3 separate regions of the Homo sapiens genome follow, and all the other regions are linked to region 2. The links are contacts of gene promoters, found by promoter capture Hi-C in human tissues and cell types (Jung and others, 2019). All regions are on one chromosome and are shown on one strand. The core of a region is centred on a gene start or on the middle of the fragment in contact, and the rest is flanking DNA. Distances in the headings are between cores, read along the strand shown. Region 1 overlaps ABLIM1 (actin binding LIM protein 1). Region 2 holds the start of AFAP1L2 (actin filament associated protein 1 like 2). Region 3 overlaps AFAP1L2 (actin filament associated protein 1 like 2).

The links. The method cuts DNA at HindIII sites, captures the fragments that hold promoters and counts their contacts. A contact is called where the count stands out against the background at its distance.
Region 1: a contact is called between a fragment that was not itself captured here and the fragment with the promoter of AFAP1L2 in region 2, in 1 of the 25 tissues and cell types used here (spleen).
Region 3: a contact is called between a fragment that was not itself captured here and the fragment with the promoter of AFAP1L2 in region 2, in 2 of the 25 tissues and cell types used here (hippocampus and mesenchymal stem cells).

What each region holds. Positions count from the first base shown.
Region 1 is chr10:114,454,030-114,457,460 of GRCh38, forward strand. The region is part of intron 12 of ABLIM1 (actin binding LIM protein 1); the gene reads right to left. Among named protein-coding and RNA genes, the nearest start is that of AFAP1L2, 51 kb to the left of the region's middle. The HindIII fragment of the contact is 4,648 bases long and covers 1-3,431 here.
Region 2 is chr10:114,403,051-114,406,723 of GRCh38, forward strand. It overlaps AFAP1L2 (actin filament associated protein 1 like 2), which reads right to left and starts at 1,452. Exons shown (of 19, transcript NM_001001936.3): 1 at 1,390-1,452. The coding sequence starts at 1,405. RefSeq lists silencers at 607-656, 1,454-1,533 and an enhancer at 1,487-1,987. The HindIII fragment of the contact is 21,033 bases long and covers 1-3,673 here.
Region 3 is chr10:114,355,298-114,358,988 of GRCh38, forward strand. All of the region lies in intron 1 of AFAP1L2 (actin filament associated protein 1 like 2), which reads right to left. Among named protein-coding and RNA genes, the nearest start is that of AFAP1L2, 47 kb to the right of the region's middle. The HindIII fragment of the contact is 6,713 bases long and covers 1-3,691 here.

The sequences.
Region 1 (3,431 bases), core at 752-3,251, 52 kb after region 2:
GTTTCTGTTTTCCTCACTTTGAAATATATAAAATAGAGTCAGACGCGTGTCAGCCAGGTATTTCACGACCATTTATACCTCTCCCCATCTTTCACTTCAAAGATGAGGCTCAACCCAGGCCAATGATTCAATCATTGAAATATTTATTGAACACCTACTATGGCTGGGCACTGAGTACTACTGAGGACAAATAGATGAATGAGATATAGTCCCTGCCCTCAAGGGACTTAGAGGCTATCTAAGGAGACAAACTTAAATGCCATATAATGACATGCAATTGTTTACTCTGAGGTATAAGAAAAATGCTATGAGACTCAGATGAAGGTGACACCAATTCTTCAAGCTAGGTTTGAGCTGGGCATCAAAGAGTAAGCTCACCAGGTGAGAGGGTAGGTGAATGGGAGGGTGGGAAGCCCATATTCCAGACAGCTGGAATGTCATGAGAAAGGAGGGTGTGGAAGGGTGCAGACTGGAGGAGCAACAGGACTGGCCACCTTGTCTGGAAGGCATGGTGCTCTTGGAGGAGAGAAGAGGGACCAGGGCAGAAAAGAGAGCAAAGGGGTGGCTGCAAAAGCTTTAAGTGCCACCATAGCCACCATCACTCCCTTCTGACCAGGAGAATGGCCAAGATAAACTAATTCAGCTTGTGCAAAATTAGAAAGAGATTTGTAACTGGCCTAAATTGTCCTCCTACCCTATGTCTGGGCAAACATCTTGTCTCAAGAAGACACCAGAAGATGCAGGACTATTAAAGCTCAATAAATTAGTAGGGGTAATGACTTTTACTGCTGAGTTGTAAGAGCTCTTTATATATTCTGGATACAAGTCTCTTGTCAGAAATAATATGAACTTGCAAATATTTTCTCCCAGTCTGTAGGTTGTCTTTTCACTTTTTTGGTGGAATTCTTTGAAGCACAAAAGTTTAAAATTTTTGATAAAGTCCAATTTATTTATCTATTAACACTAATAATTTTAAATAAATCATAGATCATCAGAAAATAGAGGTCTGGCCAGTTGCTTCAGGTCAAATTTTTCTAAATCTATCCAGTCAAGTGTGAAAGATGTCAATTGTTACCGTTTGAATATACATTTAAGAGAATTTTAATGTCTCAGCATGTACATTTTTAAGTAACCAGAGTACAGATCTACACTAAATGGGCAGTAAGATATTCCAAATATGGGATCTGTGTCTATTACTGAGTCAAATTTAGATTTCTGGCTTTTGGTTATTGGTGTTCTGAAACTTTTGTCTTTTCTTCTCAAGAGCTGGTTTAGCATCCAGACCCAAATATGTTATAATGTTGACTTTATTATTTAAGTCATATATTAGTTCCTAAAAATTATGAAATATCATCCCAAACTATTGATCTATTAAAAAGCTAATTTATAAAAATGTTATCTCATTTATCCCTCTCCTAAAGAGAAGTAACTAGTTCCTATCGGGAAAAAATGAGTATAAAAAACACAGAGGAAAACAGGGGAAGGAAGATTATAATTTGCATTTAGAAGGAAATAGTGTTTTAAACCTGTTGCTGAATTAAAACTTGGTCTCATTTGTCATCATCAGTGCTCAGGGTATCGCCTGGCCAGGAGTAAGTGCTTAATAAATGTCTGTGAATGAATGATTGAAGGAGGCCAATTAATTACCTCCACAGCTATTTATTGGCCTAATTTAGCAAGCACCATGGCAAGATTCACCATCAATTTTCTCTAAATTAAAGGAAGCCAGATGCTAGTGCAATAAGTCCTCACTTAATATCAACAGGTTACAGGAAACTGCAACTTTTTTTTTTTTTTTTTTGAGACGGAGTCTCGCTCTGTCGCCCAGGCTGGAGTGCAGTGGCGCGATCTTGGCTCACTGCAAGCTCCGCCTCCTGGGTTCACGCCATTCTCCCGCCTCACCCTCCTGAGTAGCTGGGACTACAGGCGCCCGCCACCGCGCCCGGCTAATTTTTTGAATTTTTTTAGTAGAGACGGGGTTTCACCATGTTAGCCAGGATGGTCTCAATCTCCTGACCTCGTGATCCACCCGCCTCGGCCTCCCAAAGTGCTAGGATTACAGGCGTGAGCCACCGCACCCGGCTGGAAACTGCAACTTTAAGCAAAACAACATATAGCAGGTCCTTGAAGAACGTCGTTTATTTCAACCTAGAACACTGATGAGGGGAAAAACTAGTTTTTTTAATATTTCAATTCACTTAAGTCACAGTTTCCAAGTAAATGATGATGATAAGTAAAGACCTGTGTACAGCACTGGGCTCACAACAACACCCCTTTTATAAGTTTCCCATTACAGCTAATCTTTGACAACTCCAATATAAATGTTTCACTGAAGAAAAATGATTTAATCCTATGAACATTAGAAATTAACAAGAGTAATCCATAACTGAAAAACAGAATCATTCTTACGGTCTTTTCTCGAAAGAAGGTATAATGGGTCTCAACTTTTACTACTGCTTCTGAACCCCCCTGCCCCATGCTTTTGTTCTTTCACATAGACCTCCACTGTCCTTGCAGAAAATCAGATGTTTCCAGGAAAGTTCTCGTAGGTTTTGGTTATAATACACAATCAAATGAACCCCCATTAAATCAGTTTTTATCATTATTAGCCAGTGTCACGCACACACAAAAATATCTGCATATGCAGGACACAAACTTTAAGGTTATTAGAATTAGACATTTGTCCAGGGATTAAAATATTTCTATCAACAAGACCCTGTGTTGGCCAGTGCCTGTAGAAGCCCCTCACTTCTTGAATATGGTCAAAGCCTCTCAAAGGTTATGGAGTAGCTGTCTGAATTCCCAAGGACTGGATTCTGGCTGAATGCTGTCACCAGTTGGGTGTGGTTCTATATTAGGCTGGATGTCTTCAGCAAACATTCACCTCTCTAGTTGTTTTTTTTTTAAAAAAAAAAAAAAAACACTACTTTGTTCAAATTTTGTAAGCAGATGTAACTATAATCATTTAAAACTTCCCACAAAGCATTTTTAAAAATCAGGTAAAGAGAGACCCAATAACACACCCATCTCAGCAATTCTGCAGAATGTGCTTTTCACATATCACAACCGCTCATCGGGGAATAAGTTCTTGGAATACATAATGTTGCTAGGTACCAAATTCTTAGCCCTTGAAATACCAAAGGCATGACAAATTTTGGGCATTTTTAAAAGAAAAAGGAAAATTCTCAGGAAGAGGCCTCTTTCCCTTTTCTAAATTAAACACCTTATCTGTATTTATTTTTATTTTTATTTTTTTTTGAGACAGAGTCTTGCTCTGTTGCCCAGGCTGTAGTGCAGTGGTGCAGTCTCGGCTCATTGTAACCTCCGCCTCCCAGGTTCAAGCGATTCTCCTGCCTCAGCCTCCCAAGTAGCTGGGATTACAGACATGCGCCACCACATCCAGCTAGTTTTTGTGTTTTTAGTAGAGACGG
Region 2 (3,673 bases), core at 202-2,701:
GCATAAGCGCGCATTCAGTCATTCAAGCACAAAACTGACGTGATCCCAGTAGAATTTGAGAAGAAGAAAACCACCGGGTTAGAAATGCGAGAGAAGCTCCAGGGAGGGTTCACAGAAAGAAATCAAAGGTGGCCAACTCCTTTAACCCTGTCCCCCACGCCGGCTCCCTGCTGTCGGCAAAGACCCTTCCTGAATATATGAAGCTCTGTCTGGGACTTGGATCTTTTGCCTTCACCAGTAACCAGGCTACCCAGATGAGAAAAAGCAATGGGAAAGTGAAAGACAAGACTACTTTAGGGAAGCCGGTCCCAACAGGTCCCTTTATGTCAGTTTCAGGGATCAGAGCCCTCCGGGAGTGAGATTCCTGGGAATCTGAGCGTTCTCTTTTTATTACTCTCTCCCAGGGGAAAACAAATATAGAAGCAGCATTTCCTCCCGCAGGTTTGGCGGAGACCGGTCCAGCAAAAGAGAAGGCAAGAGGCTTTTCCAAAGGGAAGGGGTCTGCAGGAGGATGGGGGAGGGGGGAGCGCCCGCAGGGTTCCTCTTAAGGGGCAACTCCCTGTACTCCCTTTTCAAAAGAACCGCAATCGAGACTTGTAGACCAGCTCCGAGGCTCCGAGTGTGGGTGCTAAGCTGGGCGTCCGGCGCACCCGGGACGGCCCGCCCACCGGGGTTTGGCGGAGATCCTGGCCCCCGCCAAACCCAAAGCTCGCCCAGCTGCGCACTGAGCTAAGCCCTCGGGTCCGGACGCCTCCAGGAGCTCCACCTGCCGGGCACTCCATTCGGCCCCCGACCCTCGCATCCCTCCTTTCTTGGTGTGGGGGAGCAAAGAAGGGCTTGGAGAGAAACGATGACCCGAACGGCAGGACGTTTGGGGAGGCCCCACCTAGCCCGGGGAGGGTCTGCGCGCCCACTCCACTGCCCAAGCGCTTTGCCGGGAGCAGGAAGCCCCTAGCCCGGCGGGCGCCCGGGAGAAAGGACTCAACAGCCCGACCCTTTGCCCCCAGCAGCTCAGCACGGTTCCCACCTTCTTCGGGGCTTCCTCGGCCCCAGGCATCTTTCCTGTGCGGCGGGACTGAGGGTGGAGTGGGGTGCCGGGCTCACCCTCTCTCCTGCAACAGGTGAGAAGCCCCGCCACGCCCCCCACTGACGACCCCCTCCTTCCGCGCCCGGGAGGATCAAAGGGCTCGGGCCGCAGCAGCCACCTAGGAGCCCACCCGCCCAGTCCGCGGCGCCGCTGTCGCCCCCTCTTAGGCCCAGGTCCGGGCTGGGTGGGGGCAGTGGGCTCTGCTTATCCCGAGTCCTGGCAAGACGAGTCCTAGCCCTGCCCTCCGCGTCGCTGGGCGAAAGGGAGTGGGTGTGCGCCGCGCGAGGAACCCGCGCCCTCACCTTTGTACCGCTCCATCGGGGCCACGGAGTGCGCTCCTCGCGGCTCGGCTTCTGCGCTGCTCTCCCGGCGCTCGGCTCAGCGCCCAGGCCGCCGCGCTGGCCCCTCCCCGTGAGGTCACGCTCGCGGCCGGACCTCCTGGCGGGGCCGCCGCGCCCAGGGTCCTCGGACCTGGCCCCCGCCAGGGCTCGCCCCCAGCGCCCCTGTCCCAGCGCCCCTGTCCCAGCGCCGGAGAACTCCGGCCCGCCGAGGCTGACAGTCGGCTCTTGAGTCGGTGCGCGCCCGCGGCCCCGCTCGCCGCCCCCGGCCGCCTTGGCACTCCCTTCACGTCTTGACTCCGGGGGCGTCGAGAGGGAACGAGACTGGGACGTTCCCAAACTCTGGGGGAGGCTCCGGGAGGCCGGGCTTGGGTGGGCCTCCAAGATTGTTCCCACACCCCTGCCCGCTGCAAACCCAATGCCTGGAGGAGGAGACCGAGGTCCAAGCTAGGAGGTTGAGACTGGCTTAGAGCTCCTCGCGCTTGGCTCCCGAGCCAGCGCGCTTTTGCCCTAGGCCTTCCTGGAGGGGCGAGGAGGGCAGCGGGGCGGGCAACCAAACCTGCTCCGGGTTCTTTGGGGATTGCTCCCACTCTCTTGGAACCTCTCTGGGCAGCCGCTGCCAATCGCGCACACTTCAGGGTGTGTGAAAACATCTGCTTGCTGCTTTCTACCTGAATTTCCAGGGCCAACGCCACAAGTCAGGGAGTGCCGTTTCCGGGGCGCCCAGTAAACCTGACCGCCTTGGAGGGGTGGCGCCGGTTCCATAAGGAAGCTCGGCCATGGCTCTGAATCTCCACCCTGCACTGCCTCCATCCAGAAGTGCCACACTTCCATCCTTTGCCTTTTGCCACCGGTCCTTCCAGGCCCTTAATGCGACCTAGTCTTCTCCGTGCTCCCCCCAGAGATCTATGTGTTCTTTTAAACTTTTTCAGTTTTCACTTTAAAATCTCAGTCACGGTTTGTGCTGGGTGCCTGGTTGGTTACCTAAGTTCCCCAGCTTCCTTGAAGGAACAATTAAGGAAGATTTGGCAGTGGTGGTTTTCTAAAAGACTTCTTAATTCTTCCTTGGAATCGCAGATTTAGTTGTGATGTTTGGAGACCTCCCCCAACCCCTCCCAACAGCATGTAGAAATATTTTTCTTAGTTATACTAGCACCTAATGTGGATGGAGCCCTCCCCACAAGCCAGGCACGGCGCTAAGGGCTGTACATCACTGCCTTTAGTTTCCCCGATATCCCTGTGACATGGGTATTATTATGATCTCTTTCATAGAGGTGAAGAAGCTACGGCTGGGCGCGGTGGCTCACGCCTGTAATCTCAGCACTTTGGGAGGCTGAGGCGGGCGGATCACGAAGTCAGGAGTTCGAGACGAGCCTGGCCAACATGGTGAAACTCCATCTCTACTAAAAAAAAAAAAAAATAGCTGGGCTTGGTGGCAGGGGCCTGTAAACTCAGCTACTTGGGAGGCTGAGGCAGGAGAATCGTTTGAACTTGGGAGATGGAGGTTGCAGTGAGCTGAGATTGCGCACTGCACTCCAGCCTGGGTGACAGTGTGAGACTACGTCTCAAAAAAAAGAAAAGAGGTTAAGCAATTTGCTCAAAGTCACACAGCTAGAAAAGAGCGGAGCAGGCGTTAAACTCGGATCTGTCTGCTTCCAAATGTGTATTTTAATTTTTATTTTTTTAGAGACAAGGTCTTGGTTTGTTGCCTAGGTTGGAGTGCAGTGGCACAATCTTGGTTCACTGCAGCCTCAAACTCGTGGGCTTCACACTGATCATTACAGAAATGCAAATCAAAACTGCAATGAGATACCATACCGTCAGAATGGCTATTATTAAAAAGTCAAAAAATAACAGATGCTGGTGAGGTTGCAGAGAAAATGGAATGCTTATACACTGCTGGTGGAAATGTAAATTAGTTCAACTATTGTGAAAAGTAGTTTGGTGATTTCTTAAAGAACTTAAAACAGAACTACCATTCAACCCAGAAATCCCATTATTGGATATATACCCAAAGGAATATAAATGGTTCTACCATAAAGACATATGCACATGTATGTTTATTGCAGCACTACTCATAATAGCAGAGATATGGAATCAACCTAAATGGTCATCAACAGTAGACTGGATAAACAAAATATGGTGCATATATACCATGGAATACTATGCAGCCATAAAAAAGAACAAGACCATGTCCTTTGCAGCAAGGAAGAATGGAGCTGGGGGTCATTTTCATAAGCAAACTAAT
Region 3 (3,691 bases), core at 285-2,784, 48 kb before region 2:
AGGCTGGAGTGCAGTGGCACGATCTTGGCTCACTGCAAGCTCCGCCTCCCGGATTCACACAAACTGCTGTGATTATAGGCGTGAGCCACCACGCCCGGCTCTCCTCTCTCTTTTTTCTGACTGATGCTCACATCCCTGTGCGACTCTCCATGGTCCCCAGTACAGGGCCCACAGCAGTGCTTTGGAAACTATGGGCATAGTCTTTTAGGTGGGCTGTGCTGTCAATTCAGTGCATTAGCACTGGTAGCTTAAAAAAAAAAAAAGTTTTGCTGAGTTTTGCTGTGAACTTAAAACTGCTCTAAAAATAAAGTCTTTGCAATACATGTAGTAGAAAATATTTGAATGCATACCATCTAATAAAGGCACATACTCTATCAAAAAATTTCTGTCGGGTCCGGGCACAGTGGCTCATACCTGTAACCCCAGCACTTTGGGGGACCAAGGTGGTTGGATCACTTGAGCCCAGGAGCTTGAGACCAGCCTGCGCAACATGCAAAAACCCTATCTCTACAAAAAATACAAAAAACTAGCCAGGCATGGTGGCACATGCCTGTGGTTTCAGCTACCAGGGAGGCTGAGGTAGGAGGAGAATCTGAGCCCAGGAGGTCGAGGCTGCAGTGAGCAGTAATTGCGCCACTGCACTCTAGCCTGGGTAATAGAGTGAGACCCTGTCTCAAAAAAGATTGTTTCAGGTGTATGTGTGTGTGCATCAGTGTGTGCATAGGTGTGTGTGCACACCCTGGGGAACAATATAAAATACATTTCTTACCATGTATATAAAATACATTTCTTACTATGGTCACAATCAAAAAGTTTGAAAAACATTTATCTGAAACTCCCAAAGCCAGAGATATTTTGAAATTCAGTGTATTTTGGAACAGTAACATGGTGCATATTCCCCCAGCAGAGTCTGGGGAAATACTCAGGAATAAAGTACATTAATATTTCTATAATAAAATACACAATTATTTATAGTAAGTGGGATAAACAGATAATGAGTCGCCTCACATCATTTCAGGGCCGTTTTTATCTCCAAATTAGTTTGTGCCTGCTTTCCAAAAAACTTCTGGTTTCCAAGAAACTTCGGTTTCCCCCGCCAAACAAACAAAAAGAATGTAAAATAAACATTTTTAAAATATTGATGACATGTTGAAATGATGATATTTTGGATGTGTTGAGTTAAATAGTCTATTCTTAAAATTAACTTCATCTATTTTTCATGTTTAAAAATGTTAAATGTAATTTAAATTTAAGTGTCATTAAAATTACATATGTGTTTTAAATTTTATTTCTATTGGATAGTACTGATCTAAAACATCAGAGCATTTTTAAAAGTCATCCCTCTGATTAAAACAAAACAAAACAATGTTCAGAGAGAGAAAGGGACTTCATCCAAGTTGCACAGAAAACCCAAATTTCCTATTCCTGCCCAAGGCTTTCTAAACCCAATTTCGAGTAGTTTTGTATCCTAGAGAGCAAAGGAAAGAAGAAAGGTTATTCTTGAATGAGAATTCCATGGGAGCAGTGAGTAAAGCTTGGAAAAGGGCTTTTACATGTGTTGGTCATGATTTACCAAGGTGAGAAGGCTCTAAAAAAGGAAAGTTCTCTCCTCAGGAAAACAGCTGTGCCCTGGATGAAAAAAATGTGGTTACTCCGTGCAGGCTGTACTTTGTTTACATGAACAAGAGCCAGTTATTCATCACAGAAATATTCTAAATTAAACCCTTGAAGCCCCATTATATAAACAAGCTAAAGGTATCACAGAGTTTTGAGTTGGACCATTGTTTTTCTTTAATGTTTCAGCCAAAATTTGTCAAAAGAAACTGCTGATGTACAATTTCAGACTCTTCCAGAGCATTTCATTTGGGGAATAGTTTGCATTTGGCTCTTTAATCAAATCCTCTCTTCCCTTTCTGGCCAGTCTCAAAAGGACGCCTCGGATCCTCACCTCCCTGCCCTGCCTATGCTCCTTGCTATAATTTCTCCAACACTGTGGCCTCCAACTTCAAACACCCTTAAATTTCTTTAGCTACTCTTTCTCTGGTGTAACCACATTCTCTAATGCAACACCCACACACACTCATACTCACTCTGAACTGTTATCCCCTTGACCTTGAAGCCAGGCTTTAACAAGGCCCCAAGGTGTGGTCAGCATTTCAGCCCCTCCCTGTCCCAATCTCACAGTACCCTTGTCTACCCACAACAACATTTCCCAGGTAGTGACTGCATAGCCAATATTCCATGTTGGATATGCAATATGGAATATCCAATATTCCATTGAAAGCAGTAGTGAGTATCGGCTCTCTCTCTCTGCCTGGGTCTTGCTAAGCAATGCAGTGGGGAAGATAAACATGCAAATTCCAATTTCCCCATTTCTAATTTACATGTATTCCTTGAAATAATAAAAGAAGAATGCATGTTGCAATTCTGTTTGCATTAATGTAGCTGTGTCCCTCAAATAGGGTGCTACTAAAAGGAAATGTTTCTTAGAATCAGTGACATTTTAGAATCAACCATTAGTCAATCAGCTCCTGTCCTTCCAACCACGGTTATTTTCCATTCCCTCACAGGGGCTTATTTGCAGTGTGTTAAGTTTCTTTTGACAATACACACTTTCTAAGTGTTTTTAAGGGCCTTCAATGCTAAAATTGTGTCTGTCTCAAATCTCAAACCAGATTCCTACAGTATAAGCATCATGTCTGAGAGTTCAGCCTCCCCAGAACAATCCTAGCTCTGAATCCCAGTGTGGTTCGGGAGTTGCTCACTTCAAAGTGAAGTTGAATTAGAAAAACCTAGGAATAAACAAGCCTCTCTTTTGTTTTCTGTTGTTCTGAATATAATTTGGCATAAAGTAAAGCAAAAATTCAATGACCTCTAAATTCGGCAACAAGGATTAATAGGTTTTATGATGGGTAATTTTCTATTGAAATAAACTAGGAAGATAGAATTACAGTTAAGGAAATAACACAAAATGCTATCAATAATAAAGCAGTCAAAGAAAAATAAGTCTACAACCCAAACAAGGGAAATTGCTTTTATTAATAATAAAGTCAGCCAAATGATGACAAAGGATATCTCACTGAACTCAGACTCATAATAAAACTACATGGTATATCTCATCATCCCTTAGATGAAGAAACAGACTCAGGGAGGTTAAATAACTTGGCCAAAGTCACACAGCCAGAAAATCCAGATCTGAATTCAAATCACTCTAACTCCTTCCACCATCACCTCAGCTGGCCTCCCTTACATTTTCTTCTTTCAATGACAAATAACAATAACAATAATAATAATAATGATCATAAAAACCAGAGTCATTTGAAAATAGAGCCTTAGGCTGGGCACGGTGGCTCACACCTGTAATTCCAGCACTTTGGGAGCCTGAGGTGGGTGGATCACCTGAGGTCAGGAGTTCGAGACCAGCCTGGTCAACATGGCGAAACCCCGTCTCTACTAAAAATACAAAAATTAGCCGGGCGTGGTGGCAGATACCTGTAATCCCAGCTACTGGGGAAGCTGAGGCAGGAGAATCGCTTGAACCCGGGAGGTGGAGGTTGCAGTGAGCTGAGACTGCACCACTGCCCTCCAGCCTGGGCAATAGGAGCAAGACTCCATCTCAAAATAAAAAAAAAAAGAAAATAGAGCCTTAGCAGAGAAGGTATATCTAAGAGACGACTGTTCGCCTAGATTC